Linked DNA regions of Homo sapiens: all the other regions are linked to region 1. The links are contacts of gene promoters, found by promoter capture Hi-C in blood cells and fetal thymus (Javierre and others, 2016). All regions are on one chromosome and are shown on one strand. The core of a region is centred on a gene start or on the middle of the fragment in contact, and the rest is flanking DNA. Distances in the headings are between cores, read along the strand shown. Region 1 holds the start of IFNE (interferon epsilon). Region 2 has its middle 120 kb from the start of MTAP. Region 3 overlaps LOC107987053 (a long non-coding RNA gene). Region 4 overlaps LOC107987026 (a long non-coding RNA gene).

Region 1 (5,304 bases), core at 2,527-5,026:
TGTTCTCAGTTCTTAAGGAAGCAATGTCAAGAGAAAGGAAAATATCTTTTCTTTAATTCAAGACTTCAGAGACCATTGTAAACTTGAATAAAGAAAGCTAGGAGAAAATTATTATTATTGTTATTATTATTTTGCAGTGATATTTCACAATGCTATTCAGGTTTGAGTTGTCAACAACACAGTGCAGGCTTTTGAGTCAGGCTGACTTGGGATAAGATCTTTGCTCTGGTATCTGCAAGCTCTGTGGCTTGCTACATTACTTTGAGCATGTTATTTCACCTTTACAGTCTTGTTCTCACTTGAGAAAAAAATAATTACAGAAGGCACTTGGTAAGGTCAATTTGAAAATTGGATAATGTGTTAAATGAAGGATTTGGTTCCAAAAACTTCCTGGTTTAAAGAACAACAAAAAATTTTCTAGACCATGAGAAGAAAAGTAACTTATATTTGCAGTTCCTTGTGGTATTTCTCCTTCCTCCACTTCACTACCTTTGTGTGAATTTGAAGGTAAACAGATCAACCCCTGGCTGCAATGTGAAGTCAGCAAAGACTTGCTTCTGATTGACAGCCTCTGCTTCCTTACCCTTCTTCACTATTGCAGGTGACTGTCTCACTTTCAGGATCCTATTCGGTTCCTACTCTTCCCTTTCAAACCAAGTCTAAAGTAGCAGCCATTACTCATTTGCATTAATTAAACTGAACTGGAGTATGCTTCGTTCCTAAGTTTTTACATTTACTACTAACTTTTACCTCCAATTATGCAATGCATCTGACGTAGAACATGACACATGGTAGTAGAACTAGCATCAGAGTTTTGGGCTGTGGCTCTGCTCCCTTACAGTGGACGAAAGTGGGATAGCCACCAAGCCTCAACTTTAGTTTCTCTGCCCCCACGTTGTTCCGTGGTGACTTCTGAGAGTTCCTGGCTAGAAGAGCTGGAATCCCTCCATCACTGGCATCTCCCAGGAGCAGGAACCCTCTCCCTTGGCACGGGTGTGCTTCTCTCCAGCCCTCCTCCAAGCAGACATCCCAACCAGGGGCAGGCTAATTCAGTCTCCTGTTCCTTTTGACCTTCACCAGCCAGACTCCCTCATGCATATTTCTGATAACTGTGACTCGTTAGATACATTTTAAATTATTATCTTAATATGTAATATTCACACAATTTAATATAAAAATTTTTAGAGGAGCTATAAAATCTCTCCCACCCTAATCTCCTTCTTCAGTCTTCCTTCTTCTCCTAAATACAGGTAATCATTGTAATTTATTTCTTATTCTTTATTTATACACAGTAAGGACAAACGTAAGTTTTATTTAACATTTTCACCCCAAATGTAGCATTTTATGTACACTGCTCTGTATCTTGCCTATTTTCAACTTTTTAAAAAGAAATACCGTCTCATTTGTTTCTCCAGCTGAATAGTGTTCCTTTATATGAATATGCCTCAACTGTCTCTAATTAGGAAAATCGAGATGGTTTCTTGACTTTTGGTATTACTAATAGTGCTGCAGAGAATAATATTGTTTGTAAGTTATTTCACACGTGGGCAAGTTTTTGTTGTTGTGGTTGTTGTTGTTTTGTTTTGTTTTGAGATAGAGTCTCACTCTGTTGCCCAGGCTGGAGTGCAGTGGCATGATCTCGGCTCACTGCAACCTCCACCTCCCAGGTTCAGGTGATTCTCTTGCCTCAGCCTTCCGAGTAGCTGGGACTACAGGTGCCCGCCACCATGCCCGGCTAATTTTTGTATTTTTAGTAGAGACAGGGTTTCACCATATTGGCCAGGCTGGTCTCGAACTCCTGACCTTGTGATCCACCCTCCTCAGCCTCCCAAAGTGCTAGGATTACAGGCCTGAGCCACCACGCCCAGCTGTGGGCAAGTATTTTTATAGGACACATTTCCAGGCCTAGAATTTATAGATGAAAGGCTACATGCATCTGTAATAGATATCACCTAATTGCCTCCATAGTGGTTGTACTATAAATGGCATGCATGCTATTTAATTTGTATTTCTATTATCATGAGTGAGATTGAACCTCTTTTAATGTAGTTTTTTTTCTCTGCAAACTGTTCATGTCCTTTCACCATATTTCTATTGTGTCTCCTGTAATGTAAATATTCACTGTGTAATAATATTTTCAAATCTTAAAATGCAAATTATTCCCAATATTTCTCATTGTCTCTAGCAATTTCTGGCAAATAAGCAAATCATTGCAATGGAGTTCTATGTTAAGGAAAGTATTTTTACATTAGTGGCATATTTTATTGTATCTACCCAGCCAGCCTGTATGAAAATACACCCATTTGAAGAATCAACCATATTAATGAATTTATTTTGACATACAAACAATTTAAAATGGATAGAATATATAAAGCCACATTACAAAATAAAAACAATTGTGGTCAATATGCACAATCTTAAAACACAGATAAATATATATATACACAAAATCAAAGCAATGTGATTGTACTATAAATTGTATTACCACTCTATGAAGAATCATGTCTGGAGAAGTCCTCTAGTCCCTCCACCTACCTCGGGCTTCTAAACTCTGTAGTAAGCTCTTGCTTCATGTCGTTCAAGGGTCTTCCTTGTTTGCTCAGTTTTTCTGTGAGACTGAACACAAAGAACAGACATCGGCTGATTTCTACTTGGACAATGGCCCAGGCACAGGTGCTGTAGTCCTGGTTTTCCAGGTAATCATGGATCCTTCGGAAGTACATTTTAACTTGTAATCTAAGGTTATCACTACCCAAAGTACCACTTAGCTTCTCTGCTTCCAGTCCCATGAGTGCTTCTAGGTATTCTAGCTGTTGATGAAGTTGAATGAGGAATTTCTCCGTGTGGTTTTCCTCCCAACCATCCAGAGAAATATTTGCCCTGAAGAGGCTGAAGATCTGCTGAAGCATCTCATGGAGAATGGCCAGAGTGTGTCCTTTTTGGTACTGCTGAGGACTCAAAGACTTCTGAGGAAGCAGAAAGTTTTTCCTGTGTGGTAGACACTGCTGAATTGACAAGGTTTGCAACTTATTCAAGAGTTTTAAACTTTCTTGATTCACTTGTCTTTGCTGGAAGATAATCAGTTTCAAATCTAGAGAGAAGATAGTGGTAGAGGCCAGCAGCACCAACACAGTTCCAAAGAAGTGCTTGATAATCATGGTGAAGGTCAAATATGCTACTTATCCCTGCATAGACTTAGGGAAATTCCAGCTCTAGTGAATGTTTGCCTTTCATGCATCTCAGATTATTTTGGAGAGTGTTCTCTTTTGTTGCTTTCGTTTTCTAATGTCATTTCTCCAAGTTTACACATTAGATTTTCAGGTTCCCTTTTCATGGTGTTCAGAGTACATTTTCTCCATTTCCCTATTGTGTTGGCTATTTTGAGGAAGTACCAAAATAACTTATTCATTGTATGCTTTCCTTGAGGCAATTACAGACTAGTCATCCAACATAATCTTTTATTATTCTATTCATTATATACAAAGTTTCACTGAACACAATGTGCTTTCTAAATATTTAGTCAAGCTTATTAAAGTTCTTTTATTGAGATTACGTTTTTTTCAGTAATAGTCTTTCATGGAGTAAAACTTACCAAAGGCTTATCAGCACCTATAAAGAATTCAGGGGCAAAACTTAAAATACCTACAAACTACTAAATTTAAAACCTCAATTAGAACTGTAAATTGTCACAAATGCTTGAGCAAATAATTAATTTTAAAACATATATCAGCAATCTTAAATTATTTTATATCTTATCCTATCAGTTTAATATCTAAGATTCTAGCCTATAGAAGCAATGCAAAAAAATTAGCAAAAGAAGAGTGTTATAATATTATTGCAAAGCAGAATATTAGAAACAACCTATAGGTTCAACGACAGGTGAATGATTACATATATGTTGGTACAGCCATATAATTAAATGATATATATCCATTATAGATGACAAAATTATATGTGAAGAGAGATTGGGGGCATTTGGTTAGCGTATATTCCCTAGAATAGTGATAGCTCTGGTAAACTAATGTGAACATCTCTACATTAACAATGTCCTTTGAATTACAAATACCCAGTTCCATATTCTAAGTTCCTCTTGAATAAGCCCCCAATATACCTTTCCAATCTTATCCCACTGTTGCTCTAAATATAGTGTGAAGGAATCTGAACTCCAGATAAAGTAAGTGATTTAGTATTCCCTTAATACAGCTAGCACTTGTGTGTGTGTGTGTTTATTGATGATGCTTTCTCTGAAACATCAACTGTTGCCTCCTTTACCTCAAGAACCTTTCTGTGCAAGGACTAAAGACTACTTGTCCTTTAAGGCCCAGATCTCCCCCAAGGAGCCATAATCTTCTGGATCCCCACAACACTTTGTACCTACCTTATTTAAGACACCTTTCTTGTTCTGTCTTATACTTGACTATGTACTTACATGATTAAAAGTCTCTTCAGAGTGTGAAATAAACACTGATTACTGATTTCTTTGCTGTCTATACAACTATAGTAGTTGCTTAATAAATATGTGTTGACTTGGAATAAATTAATATGTTCTACACAAAGTAATACAAGATGTTGAGTCTTATCTTTAATCATTTCTCTGCAGGCAGCTGGGTGAATCCCTAAATGTCAAAAACAGGCACTCTGTAAACATGTATGGTCTCATTATATACCAGCTCAGCTGTATGTTTGGTCACTTAGTCTAGTATTAATAAGTTGAAATAAACTCAGTCAGCATGCTCCACAGAGGGTCTTTTCCCTCCCTATCTGAGAGAGAGAGAGAGAGAGAGAGAGAGAGAGAAAGAGAAAGAGAGAGAAAAGACATATGATAATATATAATATACGAAAGGAATAACACTTGTTTCATAACATTATGCTCAATCTATCTGGAAAGTAGAATTTTGACTAGTCTCAAAAAATCTTTAAATATTTAATGCTGAGCTTCGGGAAAACAATATAAAAATAAATTAAGAATATCAGAAGTTACTCCATCTAATAACAACGAGCTCTGATCTATAAGGCTTTCTCATCATTTTCATTCAATTGACAAAAATGATCTAAATGTTGTTTAATTTCCAAATGATCAGGGATTTTCCAGATGCCTTTCTGTTACTGATTTCATATTTGAATCTGTTGTGGTTAAAGAATGTAGTTTAAATTTATTGAGACTTATTTTATGGCTTAGAATATGGTTTATCTTGGTGACAGTTCCTTGTGAACTTGAAATAATAATGTTCTACTTTTGTTGGTTGGACTGTTTTATAAATGTCAAATAGGTTAAGCTGATTGAAAGTGTTTGAAATTTTCTGT
Region 2 (5,662 bases), core at 866-3,365, 200 kb after region 1:
TTTAAAGGAAAGGTGGGGAAAGAGGAGCTTTGCTCTAACATGGTCAGGTCATTCTACTGCCAGTACCATCCTGGAAGGGTCTGGTTTCAACAGGTGTCAGTCCAGGGACTATTACAAAGAAGGAAACGGAAAAATAGGGCAGCACACACTTTTTAAAAAGTCTTTCCTTATTTATTCGTAAGTTGAAAGGAGAGAGTGATGGCAGAATGTGAGTGTAGTATATTAAGATATGAAATACAACAGCTGAATGAGTAGAGTGTTTTCACTGTTCTGGTAAGAATGAAATACATGGGTATATTCAAACTAAATGCTCTTATATATGCATTTCAAACTGGTATTGCTCAATATAAAGATATATGATGAAATGATAAAATTCATGCCAATAATTTAAATTAAAATCTTCTTTATTTAGAACATTAAATAGCAAATAAAACACCATAAGAAGCTGAAGAGGGTCTGTCAAAGGAAGACCACCAATCTACCACCAGGAGTCGATTTCAGTTCCCCTAAATATCCAAGCATGAGGGAATGCTGGCAATGTGAACGTTCAATGGTAAAGTATCTGAGGATTTTGCAGATGCAGGTTGTCAAACTCATCATTAATGGAAGTAATCAAGAGCTCTAAGCATCCTTTTTCTTTTCCATAAGTTCCAGGGTGCATGTGCATACATTCTAAATGCTGGTCTGTTAAACCGATGTGCAAATTTTCAAGGACTATGCCAAAAGATAATAGCAGCAAGCCCACATTCAAATGCTGGAGAAAAGGAATGGGCTCATGACAATGAGCAAGTTAGATAATGCTTACAAATCACACTCGGGAGGCATTTTCTTCATGTTCACAGAATCTGTAAAATCCCTTTGCAGCAGAGTATGGCATGTTTTATTTTTTTCTTTTTCCAAGTTAGGTAACAAGTTTAGAATATATCTAAAATTTATTGGATACTAATTGTGTCCTAGGGTCTCTGTTTAGAACATTTATTTGCACTGTCTTATTTAATCCTTACAACAAGCTTATGAGGAAAATTTCATTATTACTCTATGTATTACATGAGGAAGCTGAAGATTAAGGAAGTCAACCGTCAATAGCCATGTAGCTATTAAGTGGGCCTCTGAGATTCTAGAACAGATCAATCTGACTCCAGACTCCTTTACCACACACTGCATTATTTGATAAGAACGTAAGGGAGTTGCCCAGAGCATCTAATCTCAAACCTATCTCTATTAATTCCAAAGTCCTTTATTTTTCCATGCCCACATTCTCCTCTATATTGAATCTTGTAGTGGATTTTATTAAATGAAGTGTGGATTTTCCCTCTCTAAGAATGTCTACAGTGAAGTTATTTACCACAAGATGGTTTTCATCCAGACAGAGGTATATCTAACACGAATAAATATTTTCTGAGCATTTACCATCTGCCCCACACTACAGTAACACTGTCGAGTTCACTGAAATGAACCTGATGGCTTCTGTGATTCCAGGCAGCAACATGTTTCTCTAAATCCAATGAAAATAGGAACTTATAACATCTTCAGCTTACATATTTACTGTTAACACGAAGGGGGAAATAAAATGATTTCATTTCCCTTTCGCTGTTTGAGGAGCAGTAAAGCCCAGCTTCTTGACTTTGAGTCATACACCTTGAATGGTAGGTTGGGCAAACTGGTGGTCACCTTCAGGTCCCAACCTGTAGAGCAACCCACCTTGGAAAGCCTCATCATTCAGGGAGGTAAGTGTGCCAGGCTCCACAAACCTGGACTTGCTGGTGAAAAGTCTCTCCAGCCAAGAACAGCACAGCCAGGAAAGGGTAGTGGGAGGTAGAAAGCAAGCTCAGAGCTGGCAAGTGGACAGAATGAGTCACCTCTTTGATGTGGAGTGGTTATTCCAAACACAGCAAAGGTGAGCAAGCATTTCCTTCCTCTGACTACCCTAACTACAGCGGCAACAGCCCCTTAATGTAGGAAACTGAGTCACAGGCTAGGAAGGTTTCAGAGATGCAGGAGGAAAATTGCTAGACTATACTGTAATACCAATCTTACTAAGATAAATTTAGTGTCAGCCTGGTAAAATATCATTCTGCCTTATTTGCATAAACTAATTTTCCCTTGTTTCCACAACCTTTCCTCATTGCTCCCTATTCTTAGTAGGGATGCCAGTTAAGAAATGTACACATAGAGCAAGACCTTTCAGCAGAATTAACTCTTTAAAGGAATCAGTGAATGTGAGTGAAAAGAAGACTGGGATTGTCTTATTAAGAGAATGAAAACGCCGTAAAAAAAAAAAGGTTGTTAAACCCACTGGTGGTTCTGGGAGTGGCTGGTTCTTTCATAAGAACAGTTTGGTATACTGGGTCATGCTAGAATTCGCCTGCCTCAGCCTAAATGGATTGAGTCCATTTGCAGAAAACAGAGGAAAAGTACGCTGTTTCCACTGGTTTCAACTTGGAGCAGGATTGTCTGTTGGTGTCTCAGCATGGGGCCTTCTTCACTCTCCCTGGAAGCAAGGCCCAGAAACATAAAGGCTATGTTTTCTAGACTCCTTGTAAGTAGTGCTCTGATTTAGGGTCTTCTAACGAGAGACACTTGCACGAGAAGGTGGAAGAGAAGGCACTGTTATTGCTCTGGAGTTAGTGAGCAGGTACAGGGTCACTGGCAGATAGCAGATCTGAGGTTTTGCCAGTGACTTTTGGGGGTCTGCCTGAAAATCACCTACTTAGGTGCTTCAGACAACTGAGACAGGTGATGAAGGTCCCCTGCAACTCCTGCCTTACCTGATTTCCTGAATACTTGTGGCAGTTTCCCTGATTTTCTTGTCTTACAATGTTTTGTAAACCCTAAATTAAATTTCCTGATTGAATAGCTAAAGAGGTTTCTGTTTTAGACTAAACCCTACTTGTCACATACTTCGAAGGGGCAAAGAATATATCCAAATAATTCACCTTTCATAAATTATTAAGAATCTATTTTTATGTAAGAATTCATCTTTTTCAAACGTTTATATTTTCATTATGTACCAATTCTTGTGGCAATGACTTACAAAATTTACTATGGAGTCATGAAATGTATTTCATGCTTCTCATGACATCTGTTGTATATTAACATATGTTCATCTATCCTATGTCCTTGAAGAGTGCTATATGTTTGGTCTGTTCTTATGTCAGAGAACACAAAAATACACACACCCACAACCTGAATTTTAGTTTGTAAATTTAGTGGCTTTGTCTGAAGCTTTTCTGAGCAAAGAGTAGAAGGAGAGAGAGAAATGACCTGAATTCTTAAGAATAGCATCCAAAATTTTGACTCATATAGGCCAGAGTAAAGGGGAAAGGTGAGTCTTTCAGAGAAAACATAATCTTCGTGAATTAACTTTTTTCCTTCACAAAGATCAGGCTTAATCTTTGCTCCCTCTTGCCTCTCTCATATTTATTTTCATTTCCCAATCAGCAAAGGAAATATGCTTAATTTTAGACTTAACCTGAAGCTCAACATTGTGGGTAAGGGGACTTGTTCTGAGCAGTTTAAATTCTAAGGCCTCATGATTATTGAATAAACACTGAATGAAAATAGAGCGACTAAAATATCATGAGATTAATAAGTTTGACATGATTGTGTACGCTTTAGTTTGCTTATGTAGGACATTATAACTGAAAGAAATGCTCTGCAATTTTGTGGATGATGTCATTTGATTATTTGACTTTCCTAGAAAGGAATAATTTAGATGTTCACTGCCCAAACTATATCATCTCTCTTTCCTTCAGGGTGTGCTATAAGATTTTCAGTGTAAATAAGATGTCAAAAATTGGAAGCCCAAACCACAGAACAAAGATGGCTTGCAGATTCATCTATGTATTCAGTCCTTCATTTAAAAAATCATTAATGAAGTTTCTACTATATGCCAGCCTCTGTTCTAGGCACTGGGGACATAGCCATGAGCAAAATAAACTAAAATCTCTGTCTTCGAGTAGTTTACATTCTATTGTTGGAAGAGATAGAAAACAAATCCAATAAATAAAATTCATAATATTAGAGGAAGACAAGTGTTTTTGAACAAAATCAAGTTGGGAGGAAGTGTGGGGAGAGGATACGATTTCAAATAGGGTGGTCAAGGAAGGTCTCACTGAGGTGAAGACATTTAATAAAAGACATGAAGGAGATGAAGGAATGAGCTATGTGGCTATGTAGGGAAAGGGTGCTCCTGATGAGGAAAGTGCTGGTGCAGTGGCCTTGAGACAGGAGAGTGCACTGCACAGCTCAGGAACAGCTGGGTCAATGTGGTGGTGACAGAGGGAGTGAGAGATTGGTAGGAGGCTTGTAGGAAGGAGGTTAGAGAAGTAGCAAACACCTGTTTGTAGCCATTATGAAGACTTGGGAAATGTGTTCTGCTAATCCAAACACAGTTTAAAAGTAATGTATTTTATAACATCTGATTTCTGATACCCCTAAGATTTGGCATTACTACATTGTACATTACCACATTATGACAACAAAGCTGAGCAGTAGTTGCCCCTTGATATGGTTTCAGGGCTTTCCAGTACTTCTTTTTTTTTTTTTTAAGACAAGATCACACTCTGTCACTCAGACTGGAGTGCAATGGCACAATCTCAGCTCACTACAACCTCCGCCTCTCAGGCTCAAGCCATCCTCCCTTCTCAGCCTCTTGAGTACCTGGGACTACAGGTGCATGTCACTACACCTGGCTAATTTTCGTATTTTCCATAGAGATAGGGTTTCACCATGTTGCCCAGGCTGGTTTTGAACTCCTGGGCTCAAGCAATTTGCCGGGCTCAAGCGATTTGCCTGCCTCAGCCTCTCAAAGTGCTGGGATTACAGGCATGAGCCACCGTGCCCGGCCTCCAGTGCTTCCTATTTCCGATATTCTCACACTTGGCCTGCTTTATTAGGACCTAAATTGATTTTTGTTTTGTGTCTTTATAAATGAGGGGTCAATTGGCAGCTGCCTTAGTCGCTTCACAGCCAAAGCATTGATGGAATGACTCTAGGCCTTGGGAGATACAGTCCTGGCAAGCGGCTCCTTTTGGCTCCCTTTGGAGTCCACATTGTTCTATGAATGACCACAAGCCACATGTATTAATACATGACAAAATTTGCTGTCTCATCACAGCACTACACATCCAAGTGTCTGCCATCTGCGCACTCAGGAATACATGTGGCTCTGGGCCCGGACATCATCGACTCAGTTGTTTTAGTTTCACTTTGGACATTCAGAGCTGCCTTTTGATATGAGGTGAGGTTTTTAAAACAGTTTGTTTTTGTATTCAGAGTTCAGTTTTATTTAACAGATAACATTGGGGAATAGAGTTTAGTTGTGTATCCACGTATATGTGTGTGGTTGACATGAACAAGGAGAGAGAGTAAAAGAAAGGGTGTAGTCCATGATCCAATCAAAATAAAATATACTGACTCTTTCACATTTGTGGCACATTTGATCCTCTGCTAACTACCAATATCCAGGATTTGATCTGGACTGGTTGGAAAATCCACAAGGTCTAAAAATGATCAAATGTCCTCTCTATGGATGATTTTCTTTTCTTAAATATATTACAAAATATATTTATCCACACCTCATGACTCAGAAGCTATTATATTTTCATCTTCCTGATTCTGGTAGCCAACAGTTAGGGTTGAGTCAGTCAAATGTTTCCAA
Region 3 (5,101 bases), core at 381-2,880, 160 kb before region 1:
AATGGGGATATTCCTTCTTTTCCAAAACTATTCACCAGGAGGGAAGTAAAAAAAAAAAAAAAAAAAAAAACAGGCCAGTGATTTGGATGTTTCTGAAACACCTAGAACTCTCACTCAACTTTTGCTTTCAGCTGATGGCTTTGTACTCTTATGGGAAAATTGACAGCCAGAAATTACAATGGAACAGGAAGCAGCTGTATGAATGGCAGTGCAGGTTAATGGTGAGTGAATGAGGAGAGCACCCTGGGATTTCTACGCTGGGGAGGGAGGAAACTAATGTCATACAGAAATGAAAGAATGGGATCCTCCAGTAAGTAGGGGGGAAGGGAGAGTGTGGCAGCCATCAGAATCAGCAAAGTATTGTGATTTTTCCATGGCTGAAAATCAAGGTAGTCCCATTTCCAATCCCCCTCCCTCCAGAAATATATATATGTATATATATGCTTGTATATACTTAAATTTTATGTAACATAAAATAAGTTTATATACTTATATTAATATACATTACATTTTTAGATTATGTATTTTGTAATTAATATGTGTAAATATAATTATGTATACTTAAGTATATACAGCTTTAAGTATTATATACTTTTACAATCTCATATAATTTAATATATGCTTATTATATTATACTTAACATATTAAAATATATTAAATTTGTATATTATTAAATATATAAGTATACATAATTTAAGCATATGTATTTAAATATACATAAAGAATATATAGGCCTGGCGTGGTGGCTCAGGTCTATAATGCCAGTACTTTGGAAGGCCAAGGCAGGAAGATTGCTTGAGGCCAGGATTTACCAGCCTGGTCAACAGAAGGAGACACCATCTCTACCAAAAAATAAAAAATTAGCCAGGTGTGGTAGTGCACACCTATAGTCTCAGCTATTTGGGAGGCCAAGGTGGGAGGATCACTTGGGCCCAGGAGTTCGAGGATGTAGTGAGGTATGACAGCAGCACTGCAGTCCAGCCTGAACAAAAGAGTGAGACTTTTGTCAAAAAAAAAAGAATATATATTTATATATCTTATATATGTTTTTGTACATTTAAAAATCCATATGTAAATATAATGTGTAAAAATATGTATACATTTATATATTTTAATATATATACTTCAATATATACTTTATATAGAATAACATATATACGATATGTTATATATACACATATACAATATAGCATATAACATATATTGTATGTTATTAAATACATTACAATATTTACTTATTTATTTGTATTTAAATATGTATATATAAATATGTAAGTGTATATTCTGTATATATCTATAGGTAACTTTATATAATACTATATTCAGTTAGTTTCAAATCACCTTTTTTTTTTTAGGGTTGAGTTAGAGAGTTGTAAAGGCTAGGAAAATGGTTTACAAAATATGTTTTACTTGGGCCTAAAAATAATCATCAATGGTGATTTGAAACTAACTGAATCTGAGTAAAGGGATTATTTTATTTATTTATACTATTCACAGAGCAGCCATTTTCTATCGCAACTTGCTGAGACACTGGTTCCCTGGAACAAGCTTCATGGGGGCTGTACAATTTTTCCTCTGTGCAAGGCACTACTCTGACAATGGGAACCTGGGCTCTGCTCCTTCACAGTTTTACAGACAGTCCCCTTTCCTAGAGTTTCAATTTGAGGGACATCAACGTGTTAGACCTCAGGAATGTCAGGGGAGCTGCAATCAAAGCTTCTCTTGTCTGGATTTGGTTAAATGTGGACTATACAGGATTATGTTATTTATTACATTGAAATTAAAGGTAACTATCATTTACCATGTTCAGATTCTCAGCCAGTAATTTGCAAACTTTATTTTATTTCATCTTTGCAGTTTCCTATGTGACAACTATTAAAATTGTCTCAATTTTGCAGAAGAGGAAAGGAAAATCTGATGTTGTTTAAGCTCCCAGGAGCCACAGATGTTGTCACAAAGTGGCAGTTTCTACTGCCTCCCAATTTCCCTCTTCATTAGCTTTCAGTTCTTCCTCTTGGCTGCACTGAGCATGCTAGTGTTTAATTAATCACAATCATGTCTTAAATGCCATTCTTTGAATCCATGGAGGGTAGTCATCATCCTGTATTACTTATCTGTTAATCTAAATTGCCAAGCCTATTGTCTGTCACATATATGCAGTAAAGACATTTTTAGTGACAGAACAAAGACAACTGGATGACTTAACCCTGGGTTTTCGAGTTTTATGCCACCGTTATCTACAGATTATAAGCTGTGGCTCTTGTAAAGAAAGGTGGAAGAAATCAAACCTAGTGTATTAGCCACTTAAAAGAGAAATGCAGAGAGGTGAGGAAACATGTATTTCAGTGCAGTTTAAGAAGTAAAAATGTCCAAGATCAAACCTCTAAGTATACTTATTAGAATTTTAAAAGAGACATAGATTGAGACTCAGATAGGTTGTTATTTCAACATTGAGCCTCATTTGGATGGGTATTTCCTATTAGATTGAGAGTTTTGCCATTTTCTGAGTGTGTTTAATTTCCATTGTCATAATACAAAAGAAGTGTTGAGGTCATGACATTATCTGAGACCCATAAATAGAAGAGAAAGTGAACAAAGTAGAAATAAAGTTGAGATAAGTACAAAAACTGAAAACCCTAATCTGGTTATGTAAGAATCTCACAACAAGAAAGTGCTGAGACAGGTGGGTAAAGACTCAAATGGCCTAGCCAGCTGTATCCCACCAATGACCCGGCCAACCTCTTCCCTAGTGACACTGAGGATGATATTCTGCAGTTCTCTCTGCAGCTTTAGCTGTGGCCTAGCCCAGAGCCATGGGCTGCCATAAATAGGTGACCTTCAAAGTTCTGCACCAAATTGGGAGAATCTTTCTTTTCTTCCTGTCTGAAGAACAAGAATGTTTTTTAAGTTTCCCCTAGAGCAGCCGCATGGCACCAAATTCCAAAAGGCTCAGGCCACCAATGTTCTTCATGAGATGATCCAGCAGATCTCCAACGTTTTCAGCACAAAGAACTGAAATTCCTCACTGGGCTTGATCAGTAGCTAGAATTTCTGGAGACCTGTTTGGGTATAGGAAATCAAAGAGACCTTGAGTAGGAGGACTCCAGCCTGGCTGTGAAGGAGTATTCACAAGCAATCAGTCTCTATGTGAGAAAGAAAGAACACATCTGTTGTGCCTGGGACATTGTCAGACTGCAGATTAAGAAAGGAAAATCAATAAATGCTTTCTCTGTGTTAATAGGCTCATCGGAAATCCCAGGAGGTTGGAAAGGAAACTTAGATTTAGACCCAGTATCAGTCAATTGGGTCTCATCTACTAATTATGTGGCTTCGAGCTTGTAAATATTCATTCAATTCAAAGACTTTCCTTTCTGCTTCATTTATCGATATATTGAGTCATTTTTGTAAGACTGTGTTTCAATAATAAGAAATTGTACTTTTTTGTTTGTTTGTCTTTGACAGAGTCTCACTCTGTCACCCAGGCTGGAGTGCAGTGGCAGAATCTCTGTTCACTGCAAACTCCGCCTCCCGGGTTCAAGCGATTCTCATGCCTCAGCCTCCCAAGTAGCTGGGATTACAGGCATGCACCACCATGCCCAGCTAATTTTTGTATTTTCAGTAGAGATGGATTTTTGCCATGTTGGCCAGGCTGGTCTCGAACTCCTGACCTCAAGTTATCCACTCACCTTAGCTTCCCAAATGCTGGGGTTGCAGGCATGAGTCACTGCACCTGGCAAAATTGTACTTTTGAATAGGGAGAAATTACATTTTTAGCTTGTAATAATTAAAATTTATCCAATGATAATTGCTATATTTTCAAAATTTATTGTTTATAAATATGGTCAGCTTTGCCTTCTGGTTTCTATTGTTTGGTGAGGATGGAGCGGGTACTTAAATCTTTACAGTAAAAGTCAGGTCTTACTCAAACCCTCAAAGAGATACAAAGTGCCCTTAAACCTTTAATCTGCTTTCAAATCCAAAAGGAACATTAAGTCTATTTATTCATAAATCGTTTTAAATATCTCTGCTCCAGGCAATTTACTTGTCACTGTGAAAATATTGGTAAGTTAAATAAAGACTTTATTTTCTTCAGTGGAGCACTCTTCCTGAGAAGACAGCTCTAAACAATAAGTAGGTAGGTAGGAATCCTAGGGCCATGAAGGAGATGAACAATTCACATAGATTATACCAGCTGAAGTGAATTCAGTTTTACTTATGTTTCTTAGATAAGTCATATCTGATGACCGTTGATTCAGTTTCAGCAGTTGCATGAACTAGAAACTAAAGTGAAATACGGAATCATCCACCTTGAAACTTCAAATAAGTAGCAAATACCTTTTATTTGCTGGCTCTGTGGATGGTGCTAGTTACAATGAAAGAAAGTAGACACATTCTCTGCTTTCAGGGAATGACAGAGCTTCCAGTCTGGTGGGATGTGGGCAAGTGAGCATTTAATTAAAGTAATGCTAATGACTGTGACAGGGAAAGTATCAGATTCTGGAAGCGTGTAGCACTTGTTTCCGTCAGGGAAAGCATCCAGGAGAAGTAACTGCTAAGCTGGCATCTCAAGGATCTGTGGGAGTTAACCAAGTAAATGTGTGATGCTCAAAGGGTCAGAAACAGGGAACAGCAGATGTGAATGCGTAGCGGCCAGAGGGCGCATGCAGGAGCAAACAGTGAAGAAGGTTTAGAACTATGTAGAAGTAGAAGGGAGGGAGGGAGAAAGCAGAAGTTAGAATAGGAAGCAGGTGTTGTATTGTAAAAGGCATTGCAAGCAATTATGGGATTATGAGTCACAGAAATGATCATTAGAAATATTGAGATGTTTTAAGCAGTGAATTGATGTCACCAAATACATATTAGAAAAGCTCTTACAGCTGCCCTTTGAAAACTAGGTTGGGATTTGCTTGCACATACTGGTTAGAAAGGTGGGAAGTGGACCCATTAGGACATAGTTATTGTACCCAACGAGATAGGTAATAGGTTTGGAAGGTATTTATTACGTTGTAGTAAAGAGTAAAGCTGAATGTAAGACTGATGACTAAACAGAGGTGTTAAGATGTGGTGCCTGCTGAATTTTTGGGATGCCATAGAAACAAGC
Region 4 (5,010 bases), core at 316-2,815, 250 kb after region 1:
CCAGTCACTTGATGCCTTGCCTCAAAGCTCAGTGGTAACTCACTGCCCACAAATCAGATTCCTTCAGCATCTGCAAGGAACATGCAGTCATCCCTGACTTCTTCATCTGCCTTCCTTGCTACCTTCAGCCAATGAAGTGTGGCATTTTCCTTGGCCTTGAAGGAAGTAGGTGCCACCAAGGTAGAATTCTACAAAGCCAGTTTGGAGGATGGTGGAGTAGAAAGACTGCAAGAGCCTTGTATTCTGTCTTCTTGCTCTTTTTCTCTCTTCTCCTCCAACATCTCTAGAAATAGAGGGTGCAGATTTCTGGCTTTTCAATTTCCCTACACCAGTGCTACCCAGACTAGTGCCAGGCCATGGACTGTCACTGGCCCACAATAAGATACACACAAAAATCAAGAGTAAATTTCTAGATACAATTTAACAGGGTAATTTCATATCTACCAAATGTAATTTAAAATGTTAGGCTTTTATTTTATGTGTCTTTGTTTTTCTATTTCATTTTTCTCATAACTCACTTTTATTGTATTTTTTAAATGATAGTGTGGGAGCCCAGGGAAAACTTCCTCTTCAACCTCTAAAGAAGCAGTCCCCAACTTTTCTGGCACCAGGGACCAGTTTCATGAAAGCCAATGTTTCCACAAAGGGGGGCTGGGGGTTGGTTTCAGGATGAAACTGTTCCAGCTCAGATCATCAGGCATTAGATTCTCGTAAGGAGTGTAACCTAGATTCCTCACATGTGCAGTTCACAATAGGGTTCGTGCTCCTATGAGAATCTGATGTCATCACTGATCTGACAGGAGGCAGAGCTCAGGCGTTAATGCTCGCTAGCCCGCTGCTCACCTCCTGCTGTGCAGCCCGGTTCCTAACAGGCCATGAAGTAGTACCCGTCTGTGGCCCAGGGGTTGGGGCCCCTGCTGTAAAGTTTTGCTTAAAAAAATCAACTGACAAAAGGCAGATTAATCGGTGAAAAGGCATACAGATTTATTAACATGTACACGGAGAGAACCACAGAGTGACTCCTACAACCCCTCAATGGGATGCAAAAGCTTATTTACCATCTTGAGGTTACAGAAAGAATGAAGGCTCAGAGCATGGCCAAAAAGGTTATGGTGGTAAATCAGGATTTACTGGCAAGACAGGTAAGAGGGAGAGGAGAGACTTGGCTGGCAAAGATGGTCATGTTACCTAGGTGAAACCTCACAGGTAATATCCCTCCAAAAGAATAAATGGTAAATATTTCTTTCAGACCTTTAAAGGTGTCAGGCTCCCATTAATCTTTCCTAGATCCAGTCAAGGGAAGGTTTCAGAGAAAGCCTGGATGCATCAATGTAAATTTTCTCTTTAGATGCAAATCTCCACAAAAGAGCTTTGCAAGGCTACTTCCGTTTGCAGGCCCTCTGAACAGCCGTCTCAAAATATGTGAAAGAAGTGTCTATGGGAGTGAAATATTTTTACTTCTTTCAATAGAACAAGATGTGTTAGAAACTTTTTAAAAGTGGTTTCTCCCACAGATAGTTTGAGAGGCACTGCTCCTCATTGCATCTGCTCTCTATTCAGCAAGCCTAAGGAAGAGGATCATTGATGGAAGGGACATCCTCTCTGTCCTGCTCTCTGCACCACAGAAGAAACATAAGGAGTTCACCAGACTTGAGTCTGGGTATGCTACAAAAATGTGACTTCTTTTCCTGACAAAGCCTGGATTTTGAACTTATTTTCAAGTTGTAGATGCAAGCTAAAATCTAATTTGACAGTCAAAGCTGGACAAGGACTCCCCTGTGTTCTGGTGGGGACTATGTTCTGACACCTTTTCCCTGAAGCACGGAAACCCATTGTTTCAATGAGTGGGAAGTCCTAAAGCAATGTGATCTACAGGATAAGAAGACACACCAAAAAAAATATCCTGAAGTTGCTGATGTAAGAAGGATGGTTGGAGAACAGCTCTATTTCAAGAACATCTGAATATGATGTTTTTCATAATCTTAAAAAAACCTGTATCGGTAATCAATACAATACATTCCAAGTGACCCTATTTTTTTGCAAAAGAAGAAGAAAATCTCTAGAAAACCATTTGCATTCATATAAGCTTTACAATGCCTGAAACAAATGTTTAGGCCTCAGTCTTTTCCAGTTCAAAGACCAATGAAAATAATTTGTAGACCACACTTGAACAACCACAAATTGAGTGCTGTTCCTAAAGGAAGCTTTCGCAGCTGGGATGCCTGAAACAATTCTGGCATTAAGTGGGTGAATATTATTATTAATAATATTTAATTAAGTTTCTACCTGAGCACCCTGCTGAAAGACTCTCTAAAAACTAGTCTAACATCATTAATCTAACAAAATAAGGGCCAAATTAGGAAACAGAAGAAGGCTACAGTTTTATCATTGTACTGACCTATCTTAGAGGTAACGTTGACTCTCCTTAGAGATAGTTTCCAAAATACTATTACTCAGTTGAAGAAAAGTTAGACCATGCTCAAGAATAATTGTTTTGAGATTGTCTTATGCCCCACAACCTCCCTGCAAGTGCCATTTTGCTATGTTCCTTAAAACCACCTCTTTTTCAAGGATTCAATTCCCTTAAGTCTGCCTGCCAGCCTTTGTCTCAACTCAACTCAAAATGGCAAGGATATGACTTGGTTTATCTACCCAAGTTGATGGATAACCAATTAGACTTTAGTGTGACTGTATATGCTTCTATACACACTCTATATACTTCTCAAGAAGTATTTGTAGTGTTTGCCTTTGATCTATAATTGTAGCTTGAAAGCTCTTTTTTTCCTATTCAGTAGACTTCAGATAACTGCAAGCCATAGGCAGTCTCTCTCATTTGAAAAGAGAAAATCTTTTCTTCAAGGACAATATCTGGTCTCCCCAACCCAGATGGTCCCTGCTTCCTGAGCAGACCTATTTTGTTTGTTGTTGTTTTGAGACAGGGTCTCTCTCTGTTGACGAGGCTAGAGTGCGGTGGTGTGATCATGGCTCACTGCTGTGTTGACCTCCCAGGCTTAAGCAATCCTCCCACCTCAGCCTCCTGAGTAGCGGGGACCACAGGCATGTACCATCACACTTGGAAATTATTTTTATTTTTATTAGAGACAGGGTCTCCCCATGTGGCCCAAGCTGATCTCTAACTCCTGAGCTCAAGTGATCCTCCTGCCTTGGCTTCCCAAAGAGCTGGGATTACAGATGTGAGCCACCATGCCTAGCTTCTATTAATAATGTCAGTAAGAAGGTATTGCCCTTCTCCACCAGCTCCTAAAATTAGGTAGGGCTGTGGCCTTCTTGCCTTTGAAGATGACATTCCCAATCACAGTTAATATATTAAAATATATTCACATAGATTAAATATAGTATATGTAATTATATTGACTAAATTCTCCTACACTTGATGCTTTGATATATTGTCAAATTTTGTAGACATTTGTTTCATTTGGTAGCTTTATTTATTTTACTTATTTTAATGTATTTATTTATTTCAGTGTGGTAGTTTTCTTATTTTGATGCCAATTTGTTTTTAGCTGTCTAATATTTTTATTAGTTGTCTTGGGTCAGGTTTCCTAGAAGCAAAACCTGACATGAAGATTCATGAACAAGTGGTTTATTACAGAAGGATTCCTAGGAGAAAATGATAAGGATTTGAAAGAAGTAGTGGGGAAGTCAGGGCAAGACTGGGAAGGGGAAGAACCCAAGCAAGGCTGTAATTGCAGATAAAGTTGCAATCTCAGCCTAATCCTATGGGGAGCTCTAGAGTATAAATCACATGGCAAGCTTTGTCCCACTTGTTGAGGCAAATAAGTCAGGCTTTTGTACCCTTCCATCAGTCAATCACCAGCTGTCAGTCAGTGGATAGGAATATTCTCAGGCACTTCCCTCAGTGATGAGACAGTTTATATATCCAAAGACAGTCCTCTGCAGAGGCAAGGGAGCCTTTAGCAAAAGAGAATACGGACGCTGAGGGGACAGGGCATAGTGCTGGGGAAAGGAATTGGAGAGGGAAGCACCTGGGCAGGACAGAGTGTTCACTACAGCAGTCATTGAAAAGATCATAAGCACCATGCCTGGAGCACCGAAAAGATGAAATAAGCCTTGAAATCCAGATGGTTTCTGGCATATCACAGGTCTGCTAGACTTTTCTTTTCTCTCCTCTAACCCAATGCTATCTTTTACTCCCCCTTTTCATCCTTTGCCAAAGACTTTCTGAAAATTGTTTGTAATATCTGGTACACCTAAAGAATCTGTTAGGTCCTCAGTATTAAACAGAAGAGATAAGTGTTTTCACATCCTATCTGATAAAATGAAGGACACAAATTTAAAAATGATTGTCTATTTTTAATGTTATAATTTCATATTTACCTCTCTCATTCTTGGATTTGTTCTTACTCAATAATAGCTTCCAACATTGTAACCTGGAGTTGTTCTCACTCTCTTACTAAATGATTTGAATCCAATTCCAAGAATAATGCTGCCACCCTATTTATAATACACTTGCACCTCCAATTGATTCCTTTCACAGTGCAATCCTCAGGTACAGATGTAAAGTTTTCTACTTCATAATGTAAAAGAATGTAAGAGACTATCTCATGACAGGAAGAAGACTCTACAGAAAAACCTTTTTTTGAAACCCCATAGCCCAGACAGTAGCACGTTATTTTTGGTGAAGAATTATCTGAAAATATAAATGGTATCTTAATCAGTGTTCAATGGAGAACCAAGAAGGGAAAGAGGAAGGAGTAAACTTTGAGGAGAGTCTCTTTTCACTGATTTTGTTTAGGATTGCAAGTACCTAGTGTTTATGAAAAGCAACTGGCTTTTAGTGGGTTCTAATTCTCAGCAGGCAATTCATCCCCTTATTCCTTGCACCCCAGGCAGATCACTTCTACTGCTACCATTCCTCTCCACTTCGGTTTGCTTTTGGGTGATGTAGTTTGTCCTAAGACCAGTGAGTTCCATGAGTATTATCACATTGCCACTCCTTTTGCTGTAAAATAAGTTCCTTGGATAAAA

Evidence for each region. Contacts are between HindIII fragments. The CHiCAGO score rates a contact against its expected background, and 5 or more counts as called.
Region 2: a fragment that was not itself captured here is called in contact with the fragment with the promoter of IFNE in region 1 in 1 of 17 cell types (non-activated CD4 T cells); the score reaches 5.4 in non-activated CD4 T cells.
Region 3: a contact is called between a fragment that was not itself captured here and the fragment with the promoter of IFNE in region 1, in 2 of 17 cell types (naive B cells and total B cells). The highest score is 6.7, in naive B cells.
Region 4: a contact is called between a fragment that was not itself captured here and the fragment with the promoter of IFNE in region 1, in 4 of 17 cell types (naive CD8 T cells, endothelial precursors, naive CD4 T cells and 1 more). The highest score is 7.7, in naive CD8 T cells.

What each region holds. Positions count from the first base shown.
Region 1 is chr9:21,478,537-21,483,840 of GRCh38, forward strand. It overlaps IFNE (interferon epsilon), which reads right to left and starts at 3,777. Exons shown (of 1, transcript NM_176891.5): 1 at 2,303-3,777. The coding sequence starts at 3,158. The coding sequence ends at 2,532. The region is part of intron 1 of MIR31HG (MIR31 host gene); the gene reads right to left. The HindIII fragment of the contact is 2,296 bases long and covers 3,524-5,304 here.
Region 2 is chr9:21,683,252-21,688,913 of GRCh38, forward strand. No RefSeq gene overlaps it. Among named protein-coding and RNA genes, the nearest start is that of MTAP, 120 kb to the right of the region's middle. RefSeq lists an enhancer at 1,234-2,433. The HindIII fragment of the contact is 2,215 bases long and covers 1,009-3,223 here.
Region 3 is chr9:21,318,575-21,323,675 of GRCh38, forward strand. All of the region lies in intron 2 of LOC107987053 (a long non-coding RNA gene), which reads left to right. It also overlaps the pseudogene IFNA20P. Among named protein-coding and RNA genes, the nearest start is that of KLHL9, 14 kb to the right of the region's middle. The HindIII fragment of the contact is 168 bases long and covers 1,547-1,714 here.
Region 4 is chr9:21,735,054-21,740,063 of GRCh38, forward strand. The region is part of intron 1 of LOC107987026 (a long non-coding RNA gene); the gene reads right to left. Among named protein-coding and RNA genes, the nearest start is that of MTAP, 65 kb to the right of the region's middle. The HindIII fragment of the contact is 1,037 bases long and covers 1,048-2,084 here.